Regions from separate parts of the Homo sapiens genome. Here region 2 is linked to region 1. The links are contacts of gene promoters, found by promoter capture Hi-C in blood cells and fetal thymus (Javierre and others, 2016). All regions are on one chromosome and are shown on one strand. Each heading gives the region's core, a stretch centred on a gene start or on the middle of the fragment in contact. The rest is flanking DNA. Distances are from core to core; before and after follow the strand shown. Region 1 holds the start of CREB3L1 (cAMP responsive element binding protein 3 like 1). Region 2 holds the start of LOC124902669 (translation initiation factor IF-2-like).

Region 1 (5,854 bases), core at 1,802-4,301:
GGGCCTGTGGAGGTGGTGTTTGCAGAGCCAACGTTGGCCTCCATCCCCTAACTCCTTCAGATGTAAAGGAGGGGCCTTGGTGGGGGGTTGGGTTGTGGGACCAGGCCCAAGAACTGGGAGGGAGGGAGCAAACCCTCCCTGCTGGGTTAGAAGGCAGACTTAAGACCCAGGGAGACATCTCATTTCATCTCCTGGAAAATCTTTAATAGACAAGAGAGAAGGGATGTGTGACTGACCACACCCTACAGAAGGCTTTAGGTGGGCACAGTTCTTTCCAGTCCTGGCACAGAATAGAGCCTGGGCTTCAGTGTGGCCATAAGTACGGGGTTTGTGTAGGGCATTGGGGTTTCGCCCTCATCATCTCACTCCTGCGCCACTGCCTGTTCTTCCCAGTCCGGCCTTCCTCCTCTTTCTCTTCTACTTGCTGTTCCCTCTGCCTAGAATGTTTTCCCTGCATTTTGCCCCATAAATGACCCCAGTTCTTGATTCAGTTCTCAGTTCACATGTGGCCTCTTCAGAGAGGCCTTCCTTACCCAAAGAGTCACATCACACTATTTTATTTTTTCATAGTCCTTACCACTCTCTGAAATCATCTTCTTAACATTTTTTTACCCACCCACCTCTGTACAAACACGTTTACTCTGGGATCCAGGTTCTTAATCACTGCTGTGTCTCCAGTGCCTAGTCTCGGAACCATTCACAGTAGGTACTCAATAATGCTTGTAGAATGTGTGAATAAATCTGCGATCATCCTCATCTCTGCTGGACTTTGCCATCCTCTTCATTCCAGAAAGAAAATGATCACACTCCTCTGTGTGCCCGGCTCTACACTGCCTGGTCTCCCTCCTCCCCCTGCCACCCCTTTCCCCAGGATTTCTCTTGGGAGATTCTGCCTCTCAGACTCCGCAGAAGCTGCTGGAACCAGAATGGCTCCCCAGGATTATTTTCAATGGTTTCCTGGGGTGTTCACCTGGGTAAGAATAAGGAAAGAGAGGACACTCTAATCCTACTTATCTAAAACTATATAATCTTCCCCAATCACTTAAATGGTACCTGTGTCTCTAATTACAGAGCAGGCTGGGAGGAACACAGGCACAATTTCCAGCCAACCTCAGGCGGGGGGCCACTTTTTCTCCTCCTGGGGGCCTGTAGGGACTATAGCTTAGTAGCCAGGACTCCAGACACCTGCTGCTGGAGCTCACTCACGATAGCCTGTTCACCCAGCCAGAGACCCCTCCCCTCCCCCTGAGAAGTATCAGCCACATCCCAGTGTTTGAATGGTCCCCATTTGGCCAGATGTGACGCATTTGGGGAAGACACCCATGGTCCCAGCACCCTAATTCTACCCGCCACTGTTGTGAAAGTGAATTGATTTCTTTTTGGCCCAGCCTTACTTCTCGGAGTTGCATGGCTGGTGAACTGGTCCCCAGAGCATGGGTTATAATCCTACTTTCTCAGGAGCAAATTCTACAGGAGGCCTGGGAGCTAACAGTCATGTGACAGCCTGGAAGGTCAGAACTTCACTCTCCAGAACTATGTCAACTAGATCATAAGGTGGGGAAAAGCCACGTGACTGCCTGCCTGCCAGGGAAGCAAACAACTGCTGTCTCAGCCTTGGTATGAACCCTTCTCCCACCTGGTGCTGAGAGCAATTTTGGTGACATCCATGGCTTAGCTGCAATGACATCTCTACCTCTTAAAGGCCTTTGGTTCCTGAGCTAATTAAACGTCCCAGACAGAAAGGACATGCTTAATCTTATTAATAACTTCTGGTCAGGAAACAGTGTGCCCAGCCCTCTGAGGGAGTGCCTTTCTGAACCACCTCCATTTGTTCAGGTGCTTGGCGATTGCTATCAGCCCTTTCAAGAGATTAAGTTTGTACGCAGGAGCAAGCCACTTAGGTAATGGATCCCGGGGCCCTGGGAGTGTCTGGTGACTGTGGAGTGTGCAGCCAGCCAGCACCTTGGCTCATTCAGATTCCAGAACCACTGTTTTCCAACTTCCTGCTCTTCAGAACCATTGGGGGGTAGGGAGGGACTTGACTATCGAGGAGAAGAGGGGGACTCTCCTATCTCTGGCTGTTCACCCAGCCCTTTCACACAGAGGGAAGCTGGGGACTGTCCTTGCCCTGAGGAGCCTCACAGCTCAGTGGGGTCACAGATACAAACAATGTGAGCAAATAAGGACAATACCACATTAGACTGGAAACAGTGGAGGTGAGCACATGATGCCCTGTGGGTGTATACCGTTGGTAACTGCTCCAGCCTGGGGGTTCAGGGAAGGCTTCCTGGAAGAAGAAACAGGTGAGATGAGAAATGAGAGTTACAAGCTGAAAATCGGCTGGGCATGGTGGCTCACACCTGTAATCCCAGCACTTTGGGAGGCCAAGGAGGCCGGATCACCTGAGGTTAGGAGTTCCAGAGGAGCCTGGCCAACATGGTGAAACCCCGTCCCTACTAAAAATACAAAAATTAGCTGGGCGTGGTGGGGCGCGCCTGTAATTCCAGGTGCTCAGGAGGCTGAGGCAGGAGAATCGTTTGAAACTGGGAGGCGGAGGTTGCAGTGAGCCGAGAACACACCATTGCACCCCAGCCCGGGCAAAAAGAGCGAAACTCCGTGTCAAAAAAATAGTAATAATAATAAATAAAATTTTTAAAAAGCTGAAAATCTCCCCCGTTGAGGGGAGATCTGTTGAGGGGACTGTGAAATGGAATTCCCTGACTGGGTTTCGTGCAGGCTTTAGTATAAGGCTGGAAGGATGGAAATAGCTCCCTCATCAATTTACGGGACAGTGGTTGGTGAAGCCTTAAAATGCCAATGTTCCAGGAACACTGTTATCGGTTCCAGGACTATTGTTGCTTTAAGCCCCCACCTTGAGCATTCAGAGAAGAGAGATTACTAAGACGAAGTTGCAGATGTCTCTTTAAAAAAGGAGAGAGGATTCCTCGAGCCACGCCCTCTTCTCATTAATATTAAATTATTGTGAATATTGATGTGGGGGCGTGGCGCCTTGGCCAGCTGGGCTAGCCAGCCAGGGGTTCCCGGTTTCACAGAGAGGAAAGTGACAGAAGACGTGCGGAGGGAGACGCAGAGACAGAGGAGAGGCCGGCAGCCACCCAGTCTCGGGGGAGCACTTAGCTCCCCCGCCCCGGCTCCCACCCTGTCCGGGGGGCTCCTGAAGCCCTCAGCCCCAACCCCGGGCTCCCCATGGAAGCCAGCTGTGCCCCAGGAGGAGCAGGAGGAGGTGGAGTCGGCTGAATGCCCACGGTGCGCCCGGGGCCCCTGAGCCCATCCCGCTCCTAGCCGCTGCCCTAAGGCCCCCGCGCGCCCCGCGCCCCCCACCCGGGGCCGCGCCGCCTCCGTCCGCCCCTCCCCCGGGGCTTCGCCCCGGACCTGCCCCCCGCCCGTTTGCCAGCGCTCAGGCAGGAGCTCTGGACTGGGCGCGCCGCCGCCCTGGAGTGAGGGAAGCCCAGTGGAAGGGGGTCCCGGGAGCCGGCTGCGATGGACGCCGTCTTGGAACCCTTCCCGGCCGACAGGCTGTTCCCCGGATCCAGCTTCCTGGACTTGGGGGATCTGAACGAGTCGGACTTCCTCAACAATGCGGTAAGATGAAGGGTCTCCGTTCCCGTTCCACCCCTCGGCACCCGTCCTCGCGGCGCGCCTGGGCCCCTAGAAGGACCCGACTACACATCACTGGGCAGGAGCCGGGGAGAGGGTTCAGCGCAGGGTCTCCAGGAGCGACATGTGTTTGGAGCTAAGCGCCCCTCCTGGGGGCTCAATCTTTGAATACACTGGCCTCCACCTTCTAGGGGGAAGGGGCCATCGAGGTATCGGGTCCGTCCGATCCTCGGATCTGAGCTCAAGAGACACCAATCCCGCCCTCCACCCACGTCTTCTAGCCGTCCCCAACCCACCCCAGGTTCCAGGACCAGACTGGGCGCAAAGTGGCAGCGCCCTTTCCTGCGCCTCCCTTGGGGCTTCGGTGGCTCATAGGCTGGATCTCCGCTGGGGGGCGCACCGGGGAACGTTCAGAGGGCCTGAGACCCGACCCCTCGGGGAAGCCAGGCCCAGAAATTTCAGGGTGCTACCCTGGCAGCCCCAGGGAATCAGGCCCAGAGACCCCCCACCCCAGGGAGGGACCTGAGGCTGGGGGCTGGGAAGAGGCGGTCAGGGCAACATAGGGTGATGGCTCAGGAGGAGGGAGCCATTTCTCTCCATCTGCCTCTAGATCTCTGCTCTGTCCCTCTGTTCCTGGAGTCTGGCTGACTTTCTCCCTCTCCCTATGTCTTCTTGACTAGGTCCGACTGTGAGCTTGTCTTTCTCCTCTTTCTCACTCTTCCCCTCCCTCCCTAAGGAAACGTGGCTTCTCTCTCTTCTTCCCTCCCTCCCTCTCTCAGGCTCAGCCCTAAGGCCTTGATGGGGGAGGGGCACGGACTTAGAATGGGAGAAAATATTTGGGTTCAGAAGGGCCTGCCCAGATGAAATGTGGATTGTTTGGGGAGTCTAGTGGGAGCCCCCTCTTCAGTGAACCACCAGTTGCGTGTGCATGCCTGTTCACACGCCACACACACACACACACCCTGTGATCAAGCACTTGAGACTCTTTACCTGCTGACCTCTACCTCCCAGGACCAAGATAAACTTGGCCAGGCAAGAGTCAAGTCCTTAGAGGACTTGAGCATCTTGGACTTCCACCTAAACTGTCCCAGGCCACTAGATTGATGGTGAGGAACCAGGCCAAGGGACAGGAGCCGGAGTCAAGGAGGCATGGGGGCTGAGGTCTCCCTGTTCTCCATTAAGCAGCACATCCTGGTCACCCTGCGCTCTGAGGAAGGCCCCTGTCCCAGGCAGAGAGAGCATAATTCAGCAGACAAGACAAGGGTATAAGGGCAGAGGGCTTGCATTGACTGCAGCGAGACTTGGTTTCTAGTCCTGGCTCTGCTTCCCCTGTGAGCTTGGCCCCTACCACTGGCTCTCCTCCCTGAGCCTCAGTTTCTTTGTCTGTAAAATGGGGGAGAGGTTGGATCAGGTCTTCCTATAGATGGTTCTGGCACAGATCCCAGGAATAAAGCAGCAGGGATCGGGGGATCCACACCTCCTCTTGAAGCTGGTAAAAGACACTAGTCAGAGGGAAAGAGGTTTGTCAGAGCTCGGACCCTTGAAGTCAAGCAGGGCAGTAGAGCCCTGCAGTAAGCTTCTCTCGGCCCTTGGCAGCTCTGAGTTGGGCTTTCTTCTGAATGAACTCGGCCGCCCGAAGCCTCTTCCTGCTGCTCCATTCAGCCCTGCATCCCCAGCTGCTTATCTGGGCCTTGGTCCAGCACAGGAAAAGAGGCACGACCAGACAGTGGGATCCAGCACTAGGACACTGGGGAGGAAAAGCCCTGCTGGGGAGGCTCCTGATCTCGCACCTGGGGCAGCGCCAGGAGAGGCAGCGGGAGAAGATGGGGTGCCTAAGGAAAGAGAGAAAGGACTCTTGGGCTGGGAATCAGGAGATTTAATTCTGTCTCTGTTTCTGCCACCAGCCAGCGGGACAATTCAGAAAAGTGACTTTTCTTTTCTTGTTTTTTTTTTTGTTTTTTGTTTTTTGTTTTTTTTCAGACGGAGTCTTGCTCTGTCGCCCAGGCTGGAGTGCAGTGGCGCGATCTCGGCTCACTGCAAGCTCCGCCTCCCGGGTTCACGCCATTCTCCTGTCTCAGCGTCCCGAGTAGCTGGGACTACAGGCACCCGCCACCACGCCCGGCTAATTTTTTTTTATATTTTTAGTAGAGACGGGGTTTCACCGTGTTAGCCAGGATGGTCTTGATCTCCTGACCTCGTGATCCACCCACCTCGGCCTCCCAAAGTGCTGGGATTA
Region 2 (5,832 bases), core at 2,487-4,986, 38 kb before region 1:
AGCTGCCAGTTCCTCTGCCTTGAATCCAGCAATTCTGCACCCAAGTGGCTACTGGAAGACTTACTTTCACACAAGGGGATGGGTATAAAAAATACTAATCACAATATTGTTTCTAACAGAAAAAAAATTAAAAATAAGTTGAATGTCCTTCAGAAGGACATTGGTAAATAAAGTATGGTGAACTCATATAATGGGACCCAAATAGGAAGTGAAAATTGCATAATCTAGAACTACGTGTATCCATGTGAACACATTTCAAGATTATCCTGCTGGGTGAAAAAAGCAAGTTGCACAATTATATACCCAGTATAATGGTATTTCTTCAGAGTTTAAAAACATACCAAACAATTCTGTAAAGTGCTTACAGGCACAAATATATGTAGCAAAAATACAAAAGTATGCATAGGAATGGTAAAACTCAAAGGCAGAAAGTGATTACCATAGGGGAGGGACAGAAATGAGTTCAGAAGACTAGATCTGTGAGGTTTTATGTCCTTTAAAAAAGATCTGAAGAAAATAGAGCAAATGTTAAGCTTTGACAAAGACGTGGCTAGGGGAGGGGAAGGCACACAGAATAGTGATTAATTATATTATTCGCTATAGTTTTTTGGTATGCTTTAAATTTTTTTGAATTGCACTTTGACCTATTAAAGGCGAATTCCACTGAGTTGGGGGTGGGTGGGTCAGGGAAGGCTTCTCAGACGAATTGAGTCTTACTTAAGATGACAGCTGAAAATTGAGTAGAAGAGGAAGGGCGGCAAGGTGTTTCAGGCAGAGAAGCCTGCGCTAAGAGGCTGGACTGGGAAGGTGAGGTAGGGGCCAGGGACTGAGACCCCCTGTGTGGCCAGAGCAGGGGAAGAAAGGAGCTGATGTTGAGGGGAGGGGAGGCGAAGGGGGTGTGCACAGACCATGCAGGACCCCACAGGCCATCCTGAAGGCTCAAGCCTCTCCCCTAAATATGACAAAATCAGCAGGCGGCCCAGGGACACTTCACTCGGCCAGATAGCGGAACAGGGAGGGCGTTCTTGAAAAGGTGACTCACATCTTGAGTTCTGGAGGATGAGTAAGAGGAAGCCGGTAGGGGGAGGGGGAGAAGGGAGGAAGGGGAAAATTCTCTGGATAGGGCCTAACTGCAGCAAAGACCTGAGGACCTTCAAGAGTGTGGCCCCAGCGGGCTCCAGCCTCCGAGCCTAGCTCGGGAGGCGTGGTGTAGAAAATGGCAGACTAGGGCATCCATGAAGACCGGGCGGCCCCAAGCCGAGAGGCATGGCAAAACAGGGGTTGCAGGTGGCTGTTCTGGCAGAGCGAGGAGGATGGATTTGAAGAAGACAGGCATGCAGGGGAGACCTTTGAGGGGAATGTGTCAACAGCCAAGGGGGGCGGGGCGCCGGGGAGGTCTGGATGAAGTGGGAATGAGGATGGAGTGCAGAGTGCCTGGAGAAGTGTTCAGGAGGGAAGGCGAGGCATCGGGACGAGGGGCTGGGCGGTCGCGCCATCTCTGCGATAGACAATAATCGGGTCAACACGCGGCGAGTGGCGGTGCGCGCGGGGCCAACCGCGTGGAGCTGTCGGGAGGGCGATAGGATGGGCGCGCCCGGGCTGCAGGCGGGGAGCCGGAGGTGGGAGGTGCCTCTTGAGAGTGGCTCTCCACCGCTGACAGCAAACGAGCTGGTCCGGACGGAGGACAGAGGGGGAAGAAACGGAGGGAGTCGCTGGGGGACGGCGACGAGTGGGATCCGGGCGGGTGGGACTGGGCGCAAAGGACCGCGCCGACGCCGCATGGCTGCCGGGAATTCAGCTCCCCCGGCCAGGTTGAGCGGGCCCCGGGGCCCGGAGCGGGCGTCGGCATCTCCGGCCTCCCCGCGGGGCTGCAGGCAGGCGGCGCCCCGAGCGCACCCCGCGCGAGCAGGCGCGGAACAGCGGACCCAGGCCGGGCCTTCCCGCAGCTTTTCTGGCCGCCTCGGAGGGCAGGGTCCCAGCGCGGCCCGAGGCGCCTCTTGCCAGCGGCCCGACCTCCTGCCCTCCCGGCCCCCTCCAGGCTCCCCGCACGTGCAGGCCCGGCGACGTCACTGCGGCTCTGACGCGCTCTTGGAGGCCCGGGCGGAGGCGGCGCGGCGCGGGCTTCCTCCGGGAGGTCCCGGTCCCGGCAGCCCGCGGCCGCGTCCTTGGCCCTCCTCCGGGGGAACCTCGTTCATTCCAAACTCTGGAAGGCCGGCTGTCCTTCGGTTACTGATAAGGACGCGAGCTCTTGGTAAAAGATTTGAACAATGCCCGGAAAGAAATAGCTGGACCTAAGAAACAGACTAATAATAGCTGCCAGCTAGAGCTCCACTCGTGTGCTCAGCGCCTTTAGGAACAATAATAACGACCACAGCCATAGTAGCCACCATTTATTGAGCGCTTACTCTGTGCCAGGTGCTGTGTTAAGCGCTTTGCAGGCAACAACCCTCGGAGGTAAGTACCATTATCATCCCTATTTTGCAGGAAACCCGGGCACAGAGAGGTTAAGTAACTTGCCCCAGGGCACACAGCTAGCTGATGTCAGTGCCAGAATTCCAACCGCGGCTGTCGGACCCCATGCCATCCTCATGTCAACCCACTAAGGACGGGATCCTTCTGTCCATCTTAAAGATGAGGCAACTAAGGCACATGGAAATTTAAGTATAATACCTTGCCCAAGGTCACCTAGCTGGAAAATGGACGAGACAGAAAGCGAACCCAGGGCTCCTTTCTGTACGCAGAACCCGCGGTCTTGGCCATAGGCGATGCCACTTCCGACAGCCCAGCAGGGTCTGGCCCTGGGTCCCAGAGGCGCAGCCCCTGCGGGGTTTGGATGGGTTCCTGCGGCCTCCGATCCGCTGGTGAATTGGGTGTGTCTGAGCATCGTCCCCGCTCAGCCCGCAGGCGTAGGATAGGGAGGCGTCTCCGGGAATCTACTCCGGGACGGGTCCGCGGTCCTCAGTCGGGATGGAGCGGGGGCGGAGGCAGCCGGAGGGAACTGGAGTCCCCATTGCAGAACTGCGGGGCCGGGCTCTGGGCTGGGCGCCTGCCCCGCGCGGCCGGCAGAGGGCGCTGCCGCACACGCCTTGGATCTCACTGTCACTGGGACCTCGGGGCAGGCTGACGTCGGCCTGCAGACGCCTGGACTCAGAACCCCGAAGCAAGAAGCTTCCCTTCCTGGTGGCTGCCATCCCTCAGGCCCACCATTTCAGCCCTGGACCTGCTTTCCCTGACCACTTTTCCCCATCTTCTGTGCTCCTGCCATCCCACCACTGGCCTTCAAGACTTCCCCAGTCCCTGCACAGCGGGTTTTGTCATCTGCTGAGAGGCGCGGACACTGATTCCCATCCCATTAAAAGGCCTAGATGTCTGCAAGTCAAATTCAGCCTTGCTTCCCCTTCTCGCCCTCTGGTGATTTAAAATAGGGATACATCATCTACTTGGAATAAATGACTAATTTTTCTCTTCTCCAAAATACGGTGGGTATGGGGAGGGTTGGTTAAGTAGGCGCACACAGATGAAAGGATCTATTTTCATAATAGCTACCGAGTACAGAGTGCTTCTTTTGCGCTGAGCCCTTTATGTGCTTTGACTCATTAATCCTCACTACAGCCCTAAGAGGTGTGGATGATGATTGCTGTTTGATGGATGAGGTCACAAGGCTGGTAAGTGGCAAAGCTGGGATTCTTCCCAGGAGTGTCTGACTTTAAAGCTATGTTCTCATCACCCAGAATGTACACGCTGAAACAACTGAACAGAAGAGGTAAGATGCAAATCATGAAAAACAAATCAAAATCTACGCTGAGAGTGCATAGAAATACCACATGTCATGGGAGGCTTGACCAGCTTGAGTCCCCAATGTGGGACTCAGATGTTGAACAGAAAAACAAAACCTAAAGGTGCAAGGAGAGAATAAGAATGAGGCTTTTGGCTTTAGCTTGGAAGAGCATCCGGAGAGGCCCACTCACTTTCTATGTCTGGGCTCTGAGAAAATAAAGGTGGTTCTAGGAAAATCTGAAAAGTATGGGAGAAAGAAAAAAAAAATCCCTTTTGTGGTTTTTCCTTTAACCAAGCCTCATTTTGCTATTTGTGTTTTATTTTAAAATTAATGTGGCTCTCCCCACCCTTTAAATTGGCACATAAATAGCAAAAACAGAAGGAAAGCCAGCTACAAACTTAAAATGTGGTGGGTTTCTCAGGAAGGAGGTACATGACTTGAAATGGAAATGAGGATTAAATGAGATGCCTTAAACATTTCAAAAACAGACTTTCCACAAGGAATTTAGATCATAAGCCCTTAGGGCAGAAGCTTTGTCTGGGTCTGGGCTTGGTATAGTGTCTAGAATCTGTGAGTGCCCAATGAATGTGTAAAACAAATCACCCTTTTAGTACATGCTTGCATCATCTGACCATCTGGGCTACCACGTTGCTTATGGTTTTATTTATTATTATTATTATTATTTATTTTTTGAGACGGAGTCTCACTCTTGTAGCCCAGGCTGGAGTGTAATGGCACAATCTTAACTCACTGCAACCTCTGCCTCCTGGGTTCAAGTGATTCTCCTGCCTCAGCCTCTCGAATAGGTGGGATTACAGGCACCTGCCACCACACCCGGCTAATTTTTGTATTTCTAGAAAAGATGGGGTTTCACCATGTTGGCCAGTCTGGTCTCGAACTCCTGACCTCAGGTGATCCGCCCACGTCAGCTTCCCAAAGTGCTGGGATTACAGGCATCAGCCACCACGCCCGGCCTGCTTATGGTTTTGAAGTGTTGCTTCTGGGGTGATATTCCTGTCCTCTAGATCTCAGTCACTCCTCAGACCCCTCCCTTTTCCAGAAATTTGCTCTGGAAATTCAATCAAGGTGAGGCAATAGGTGATGATGTCACTAGGCTTGGTGAAGTAGAATGACTGCTCAGCTCTGGAACCACCAACTGGAGGTTTTTCCAAACGAGGAAAACAAAGTCATGGGACTTGTCACTTAATAGTTCTGACTGTATTGCCCTGTGCCTTTAAACTGGAAGAATTCCCCCTCTTCACCCAATACCCTGGCCATCCCAGGTGGCCTCCTGCAAAATTATTGGACTTCTTTGCCCTTTCCTCAGTCTGCTTCTTCTTCCCTCCTTCTTTCAGTACCTTCACTCCACAGACATGTATTGAGAGCCCATTATATGTAGGTGCTGGGAGGACAGCAGAGAACCTAGCATGAGCTCATGGGCTCACCTTCTCCTGTTCCCACCTCCACCTGGCTCCTTTCTTCATGGCTCCAACTTTCAGGTTTGGCTCCACCATAGTAACTGACTTGCTTCTCCATGTGGGAACAACTACTCAGACACTTTTTTTTTTTTTTTTTTTTGAAACGGAATTTCACTCTTGTTGCCCAGGCTGGAGTGCAGTGGCACCATCTCAGCTCACCGCAACCTCAGCCTCCTGGGTTCAAGGGATTCTCCTGCCTCAGCCTCCCGAGTAGCTGGGATTACAGGCATGCACCACCACACCCGGCTAATTTTGCATTTTTAGTAGAGACAGGGTTTCTTCATTTTGGTCAGGCTGGTCTCGAACTCCCGACCTTAGATGATCCGCCCACCTCCCAAGTGCTGGGATTACAGGCATGAGCCACCATGCCTGACCAGACACATCTGACATTCTATCAGCTCCGGGCAGCTTCCTGAGACCATACCTGCTGACTTTAGAACCCCACCTTGGGGGTACCCATTTGGCAGGTTTGGATCCTGATGGACCTTCAGGAGCAGAACTTGGGAATGTTCTAGCTCCAGGACCTGCCAATGCCGTCCCATCCTTTCCTAGTTGGCTTTCCTTCCATTCATAAGA

The links. The method cuts DNA at HindIII sites, captures the fragments that hold promoters and counts their contacts. A CHiCAGO score of 5 or more calls a contact.
Region 2: a contact is called between a fragment that was not itself captured here and the fragment with the promoter of CREB3L1 in region 1, in 1 of 17 cell types (megakaryocytes). The highest score is 6.0, in megakaryocytes.

The regions. Positions count from the first base shown.
Region 1 is chr11:46,274,611-46,280,464 of GRCh38, forward strand. CREB3L1 (cAMP responsive element binding protein 3 like 1) reads left to right here and starts at 3,052. Exons shown (of 12, transcript NM_052854.4): 1 at 3,052-3,603. The coding sequence starts at 3,502. The HindIII fragment of the contact is 5,299 bases long and covers 1-5,192 here.
Region 2 is chr11:46,236,255-46,242,086 of GRCh38, forward strand. LOC124902669 (translation initiation factor IF-2-like) reads left to right here and starts at 1,135. Exons shown (of 1, transcript XM_047427965.1): 1 at 1,135-3,475. The coding sequence starts at 1,585. The coding sequence ends at 2,295. RefSeq lists an enhancer at 1,000-1,049 and silencers at 1,635-1,684, 1,795-2,114, 2,941-3,150. The HindIII fragment of the contact is 1,141 bases long and covers 3,167-4,307 here.